2 separate regions of the Homo sapiens genome follow, and region 2 is linked to region 1. Evidence: promoter capture Hi-C in 16 types of primary human blood cells and fetal thymus (Javierre and others, 2016). All regions are on one chromosome and are shown on one strand. The core of a region is centred on a gene start or on the middle of the fragment in contact, and the rest is flanking DNA. Distances in the headings are between cores, read along the strand shown. Region 1 holds the start of ARL13B (ARF like GTPase 13B). Region 2 overlaps PROS1 (protein S).

The links. Contacts are between HindIII fragments. The CHiCAGO score rates a contact against its expected background, and 5 or more counts as called.
Region 2: a contact is called between a fragment that was not itself captured here and the fragment with the promoter of ARL13B in region 1, in 1 of 17 cell types (megakaryocytes). The highest score is 5.2, in megakaryocytes.

Annotation. Positions count from the first base shown.
Region 1 is chr3:93,978,179-93,982,141 of GRCh38, reverse strand. It overlaps ARL13B (ARF like GTPase 13B), which reads right to left and starts at 1,987. Exons shown (of 10, transcript NM_001174150.2): 1 at 1,660-1,987. The coding sequence starts at 1,718. RefSeq lists enhancers at 1,820-1,949, 2,220-2,379. The HindIII fragment of the contact is 5,745 bases long and covers 1,345-3,963 here.
Region 2 is chr3:93,885,794-93,889,756 of GRCh38, reverse strand. PROS1 (protein S) reads left to right here. Exons shown (of 15, transcript NM_000313.4): 11 at 3,254-3,421. Among named protein-coding and RNA genes, the nearest start is that of PROS1, 86 kb to the left of the region's middle. The HindIII fragment of the contact is 1,576 bases long and covers 1,421-2,996 here.

The sequences.
Region 1 (3,963 bases), core at 738-3,237:
ATGATGAATTAAATTGAACACTCCTTCTTCGAATTACACGTTTTCACTGTTTCTCGTTAAAAGAACGTAAGTTATATACATGCCTTCACAGAAACCAAATACATTTCTTAAAAGCAGACACGGAGGAAAATGAGGGGTCAACTATTATGAATGACCCTCAAGTCTTAGTAGATACTGTGAAATTAGACCAGAATATAATTAAAGCAAATAAATCAGAATCTATGCACCTAAAACAACTCTTTGACTTTTTTCTTTTTTTTTTTTTTTTTTTTTTTTGAGACAGGGTTGCACTGTGTCACTCAGGGAGTGCAGCGATATCGGCTCACTGCAACCTCCGCCTCCCAGGCTCAAGTGATCCTACTGATTCAGCCTCCGAAGTAGCTTGGACTACAGGCGTGCGTCACCGTGCCCGTTTATTTTATTGTAGAAACGGGGTTTCGCCATATTGACCAGGCTGGTCTCGAACTCCAGGGCTCCAAAGATCGGCCAGCTTCGGCCTCCCAAAGTGCTGGGATTACAGGCGTGAGCCACCACACCCAGCCCATCTTTGACTTACAGAGTTGATCTTACTACTTATATTTAAAACATTCAAATTCAGTTAGGAGCTAATAATGGGGAAGAATCTCTAGTTTCATTTAAAGTTACTTTTTTTCCAATCTAGACATGTATTTTCTGTTATAATGTGTAAGTGTAGCTTTTCAGATTCATTCTTTAAAGGATAGTTCATTCTCATGGCAAATATACTTAAAATGTTAACAATTTAAAAAAAAAAACAACTTTGCTTTATCTTACCCTTGGCCCAATTCCAGACTAGAACTATGTGAAGTCAACATTATTTGTGTAACAAACACAAGATCTCTTTATAGGTTAGGCCTCAGTTTCAAAAGCATCAATTTCACTGATTATTTCCTAAGACAGTGCCTGGCACAAGGTATTGTCTTAATAAATATTTTTTGAATGAATGAATATCAAGTAACAGGTACTAATTATTAATACTTCCAGCATTTCAAAATGAAATGTTAAAAAGTGGACCCTTTCAATTAAAAGGTTTTACTAGAGACCGTATAAAAATTGGAAGCTACATTACAGTTAAGAAAACACTATCACTTGTTCTCATTGAATACAATATTTCTAAAGCAGAGTATTATCACTCTCATTTAATATTTAAGAAAGGTGGGGCCAAAATGGTTGAGTCATGTAATTATTAAGTAGTGGAGCCAGATTTCAAGCCCACGTCCTCAAATACAACTGTGTGGAGGTGTGACTTGGAATGGAATGTGCGGATATTATGAAAACTATATTCCATGTCCCCCTCTTTTTAAAAGAATTTCCATTACAAAAGCTTCAGAGGAAAAACACACAATGGATAGTTTTCAATTCCACACACACACACACACACACACACACACACACACTTTTTAACAAATTCAAACCTATTTAAAATATAACAACGGTAAGCATTGTCAATCGCAACAGAAAGTCGACCAGACAACAAGGCTACATCCTCCAATCTCTCCCTCCCGGGACACCCTGGGAATGAAAGCATCCCTTGCGGCCTGGGATAGACTCGTCCAGGCGCGGGGAAAAGGCGGCGCCTCGCCCCTGGGGCGCAGCCATCTCCAACCCCTAGGACGGCCAGGACAGCTGGCTCCAGCCTACCTGACAGGCTCCCGCCACCGCTTGAACCAGCCGCAGCAACTGGCCATCAGACTGAACATCCCGGGTCGCTCCTCCCACCACTTCCCATCCGAGCCCGGAGCGGACACCGGCACCCCGCTCTTCCCCGGGGGCCTCCGGCACTCCGAGACGCCCCTAAAGTGGATAAGTCGGGAGGAAAAGCCGGGAGGGAAGTGAAGGCGGCCGGCCCGAGCACTAAGCCTTGCTAACCGCGTGGGTCCGCGACGACTGCCCTCTTAGCCAAGGAACAACCTGACCAAAGACGCAGATACACCGTAGCCGAGTTAGCGGGACCCGGCTAAAGAAAAGCCCCGCGTCGACGTGCTGACGTTACTTCGAGGCGCGGAAGGCGTTCCCCAGGCAACGCCCGTACTGCGCTCGCCCAATCATCGGTTGAGGTCCTGAGGTAGAGGCCTCTGAGTGGCTGAAGAGTCCTGGCTACCCGCCCCTGCGCGAGACTAGGAAAAGAGAAAGGGGAGTACTCTATAAGAAGGAGGCGGAGCTCGAGGTAGCTCGTTCTCGTAACTAGGCAACCGGAGCGTCCGGAGATAAGCTGGAGGATCCGGGACAAATCTCCAGCAAGGCCTATCTTTATACCTACATAAAATGTGTTGCCAATCCACGGTGCTGTTCCTTTCCTTTCTCCAGTGTCCCCAACTGAGATTCAGAGATCTCAGGTCTTGTGCATGGGTTTTTCTTTTTCTTTCTTTCTTTTTTCTTGTTTTTTGTTTGTTTGTTTTTTGCTCAGGGATGGGGACCCTCTAGAATTCTGGCCGACTTAGGCAGCATGACTACAGGAACAATACACTGGGGCAATTCTTGTAAGTTAAAGACAAGGGGGAAATTCGCTTGCTAAATTTTCTCAGTAGTTCAGATGAGAGTGAAGCCTTAATCTCTAAAACGTTTATTACTGTTACATATGTGAAACGGAATTGTATGATATTTGTTGTAGGGGGGATTGTGATTACAAAAGAAAAATGCATTTCTTGTAGAAAATGTGAAAAATACTAAAAAGAAACAAGATGAAGAAAATGAGATCTCACAGGAGCTCTCAAAGATAACCATTTGGGGCCGGGCGCGGTGGCTCACGCCTGTAATCCCAGCACTTTGTGAGGCCGAGGCGGGCGGATCACGAGGCCAGGTGATCTAGACCATCCTGGCTAACATGGTGAAACCCCGTCTCTAGTAAAAATACAAAAAAAAAAAAACAAAAAAAAACAAAAACGGGTGTGGTGGCACGCGCCTGTAGTCCCAGCTACGCTGGAGACTGAGGCAGGGGAATTGCTTGAACCCGGGAGGCGGAGGTTGCAGTGAGCCGAGATCGCGCCACTGCACTCCAGTCTGGGCAACAGAGCAAGACTCCGTCTCAAAAATAAATAAATAACCATTTTGATGTATGTTTGTTTCAGGATTTTTAGGTACATAAATTGCTGGCTATTTGGTATCTGCAAGATGAAGATTGTTATCTCTTGACTGTTTTGTAATAGTTTATTTTTTAAAGAGGTATGTAATATTTGCATTTCTTTTATATACTTTGGAGAAAAAGAAATGACAAGGACATTCCTGTAGGGAAAAAATTATGCACAATATGTAGGGATCTGTGTGTCCATTCATTTTCTACTTAAATAAATATTTTCAAATCCTGATGAAAGGATAGAAGGCACTGAGAATCCCAGTGTATTCGCGGGGAATATAATGATTTGAGACTAAGATACATATAGGTTTTAAATTAGTCTCTGTCCTTTACTAAATCATGTAACTTTTTTTGGTTTTGTTTTGTTTTGTTTGAGACAGAGTCTCCCTCTATCACCCAGGTTGGAGTACAGTGGCATGATCTCGATTCACTGCAACCTCCGCTTCCTGGGGTCAAGTGATCCTCCTTCCTCAGTCTCCCAAGTAGCTGGGACTAGAGACGTGCACCATCACGCCCAGCTGATTTTTGTATTTTTTGTAGAGACAGGGTTTCATCATGTTGCCCAGGCTGGTCTCAAACTCCTGGCCTCAAATGATCCGCCTGCCTCGGCCTCCCAAAAGTGCTGGGATTATAGACATGAGCCATGGCACCCAGCCTCATGTAATTTTAATTCAAATTTATATACATCTCATACAGCTTGCTATCTCCAAAATACTGTGCCTTATGGGGAACAAAGGGGGTGATACCTTTTCTTCTCATCATAACAGTCACAGCCAACACTCATATAACAAAAAGAATAGCAAGAGAAAAGCATAACAAATTTATTTAATCCAAGTTTTATGTGACATGGGAACCTTGCAAATGGAGATGCA
Region 2 (3,963 bases), core at 959-3,458, 93 kb after region 1:
ATTAAGAGATTAAAGTAAGACAGGTGTAAGAAATTATGAGTATTATTTGAAAACTAATAAATGTCCATGAAATCTTCACAATTTATGTTCCTCTGCTGTGGCTCCATCCAGTCCCTCCATTCGGGGTCCCTGACTTCCCGCAACAATAGCAAGAGATTTTCCTTGCTCTAGAGCTTAGTACCTCACAGATAAGTAGCTGATGCTTCTTTGGGAAATAATATAATGTAACATGAAATACATTACATTAGAGGTACAAACAAAGCACACTTGGGCAAACGTGGTGAATTTATAAATGATTACATCTTATCTTTGATTATGAGTCTAATATTAATAGGAATTTTAATTGTAAATGTATCATAATTCATTCAGCAAAATATTTATTGGCACTTCTATGTGCTAATCCTTATTCTAGGTGGTAAAGATACAACAGCAAATAAAAAAAAGTCAGTGCTCTTATGGAGCTTGCGTTCTAATGGTGAGACGCAAACAACAAATGCATGAAAAAATAAATATGCCAGATAGTTATTCATGTTATAAGGAAAAAGAAAAGCCAGACAAAGACATAGAGAGTAATGGTGGTTAGTATGCATATAGAATCAGGAAAGGCATCTCTGATGAGATTAGATCTGAGCTGAGACTTGAGAGCACATGTCATGAGAAATAAATGAGGGAATATAAAAAGATTCTGTACCATGTAAACAGCAAGTACAGAATTTCTTGGAATAGGATGTGTTTGGTATTTGAGGAATAACACAGAGTAGTGTAGCAGCAGGGGAGAGTAGTTAGAAAATGAGGTTAGAAACGTGGTCTAGAATAAGATCATCTAGGGCCTTGGAGGCCATGATGAGGATGTGGATTTTATGCTAAATTGAAAGGCCCTGGATGGTTTTGAGAAGGGACATGATCTAGTTTGCATTTTAAAAGATAATCCCAATCAGAAGCTAATGGCTTTGTGGAAACCAGAAGTGGAGAATGAGTGTATAACAGGATATGGGGATATGGAGTTAGGAGACTGTTGGAATAACCCAGCGGAGAGAAGATGACAGTTTGACTGGTGTGCTGATGGTAAGAGTGGTAAGAAGTGGTCAGATTCTGGATATATTTTTGAAGTTAAGCCTTCAATTAAAATTTTTGAATACTCAGCATAAAGAGGGGTTTTAAGGCCATGAAACTGTTTGTGTTGACCAGTGGTTCCAAACACTATCTCATCCAATGTCTGAAAATATATAATGCTCCTTTACTATTCTATAATGAAATGTATCAGTAATATAAACTACCTTCACATATACCCAATCAAAACCAAAATAATTCTGTCATTATTATATTAATATGGATAAATAAAAGGAAAGTAATTTATAAGAAAATAATATGTATTTCAATATATACGTAGTCAACTATAACTATAACACTTGTCAAAGCTTGCTTCTATGCATAAAGTAAAAGCTACAAATGAAGACTAATGCTGGGGTGTTAAATTAGCAACTCAAGTACCATTAAGGGCATACATGGTGTTGCCATTGGTAATATTAATTTTCCAAAGTGGTGGGAAGTTCCTGGTAAAGATATGAACAAAACAAATATCAATCTATCCTTAGTTGTCAAGATTATTACATTCTTGAAAAATGTAATGAATGCTAAAATAGTGCAGCAAATATTTTGTGTCTATGTATGCACAAACTCAGATGATTGTAAGCATGAATATTCCCTACATGAATACCTAGCAGTGATGTTCAAAAGATTTTAAGAATACTTGATATTTTATTATTAGTTCTGCATTACTTATTATTATTAATTCTGCATGACTAGCCTATGTACATAATGCAGATTGTCTATCATCTTGCAGTGCCAGCATGGCCCCTACTCATTGTGACAAATAAAAGTGTTCCTCACCTCCAAATTTTCCAAATGCCCTGGAGTGGAGTCATAGTGTCTCACTTAAAATACTTGCATGGCTACAGGAAAAAGGTCTGGGGCCTGAGCTGTGGGGAGGGGAGGATCCAGCAAAGGAGACTGAGAAGTAGTGGTTAGAGTGTAGAAAGAGAAGCAATCAGGGTCAAGTGTTGTAGGCTAAGTTAAGAAAGTCTGTAAAGGAGAGAATAGTTGTTCACATGCTGCTAATTGGCTATATTAAAGAAGGAGTGTTGACCAACTTTAAATTTGTGTAACTAAATTTATTTTATGTTGGAGGATAGTTTTTCCCTTCCTATCATGGTGTTTTAATATGCTTATTGTTTGGCTTATATTATTGGTTAGTGAGTGAAGAGTTTGCTCTTTGAGTGCTATAGTTTTACTTGAAGTGATTGCAGCAGTGGTTCTTCAAATTGCCTTTGTAGAAGGAATTTTTATTGTTGTTTACCCTTACTTGAAACCTTTTTTAAAAACCCAAACAACTCTCAAAATTGGAAAACTCCAATTTAATTTTATGTATTTTTTTCTTATTGCCTCAATCACTTTTGAATTTTAAAGAAAAAATAATTTGTGTGCAATTAACAGAATAGTGAACATATTGATTTTTCTTACTTTATATTAAGAACTTATGGGCCGGGCGCGGTGGCTCACGCCTGTAATCCCAGCACTTTGGGAGGCCAAGGCGGGTGGATCATGAGGTCAGGAGATCGAGACCATCCTGGCTAACAAGGTGAAACCCCGTCTCTACTAAAAATACAAAAAATTAGCCGGGCGCAGTGGCGGGCGCCTGTAGTCCCAGCTACTCGGGAGGCTGAGGCAGGAGAATGGCGTGAACCCGGGAAGCGGAGCTTGCAGTGAGCCGAGATTGCGCCACTGCAGTCCGCAGTCTGGCCTGGGCGACAGAGCGAGACTCCGTCTCAAAAAAAAAAAAAAAAAAAGAACTTATTTACACTATTGATTCCATGTGCGTATTATCAGACAATTGCAAAATAAGGCCACTTAAATTTTTCCTAAGATAGAATGGCTCACTTAATTGTTAATTTTCTAGCAGCCTGGAATTGAAAGATATATAACTGGATGTTTAAGCTTAACAGAATAGTATTTTTTTTAACTTTAAAATATGGTATGCTTTTAATTTTTGATCGTGCTGCCACCCTAAATGCCTTTTTATCACATTTATCATAATTTGACATTCCAAATGAGTTGTAACAAATTAATAATTACATTAAAATGATTACTTTACAGAAGTATTTTATTGGAATAATAACATAAGTTTTAGATCCCAGTATTTCAAATGACATGTAGTAATACTTGGTTATTTGGTAATTTTTCTTTTTAATTGTAGGTGTCTGTGGAAGAATTAGAACATAGTATTAGCATTAAAATAGCTAAAGAAGCTGTGATGGATATAAATAAACCTGGACCCCTTTTTAAGCCGGAAAATGGATTGCTGGAAACCAAAGTATACTTTGCAGGATTCCCTCGGAAAGTGGAAAGTGAACTCATTAAACCGGTAATGATCCAAGCTTGTATCATTCATCATGGATGAGTTCCTTTTGTCTGTAATAGATTTGAATATGTGTGTTTCTGAGAATCAATAGAAGTTGTTTTGTTAAGCATACTAAGTGTGACAACTTGAAATGATCATGGAAAAATAACATTAGTAACCCTTGAAATTATATTAATGAAATAAAAAAATGACGTAGTGGTTTTGTGCCCATTTAAATCCCCAGCATAAATCATGAAGTGGATTTCTAAAATTCTCAAGTTAACACTTGAGAATGTTAACACTAATGTTAACATTAGTAATGTAATGTTCAGTGTTAACATCATGATAATCCATACTCAGTTGTTAAACATATAAATTCATATATTTAAGTCCAAAATTACACCATTTTGTAAAAGCCAGTCAAAGGACTTTCTCAAGTCTATTTTTAGGACTTAAATGCAAGAGCTAAAGAATAGCACATAAGGTGAAATTTATTGTTAAATATTTACTATCTTACATCCGTCTTTCATTCTCTGGAAATTCGTAGTTACTTTAACTTTTAAAAG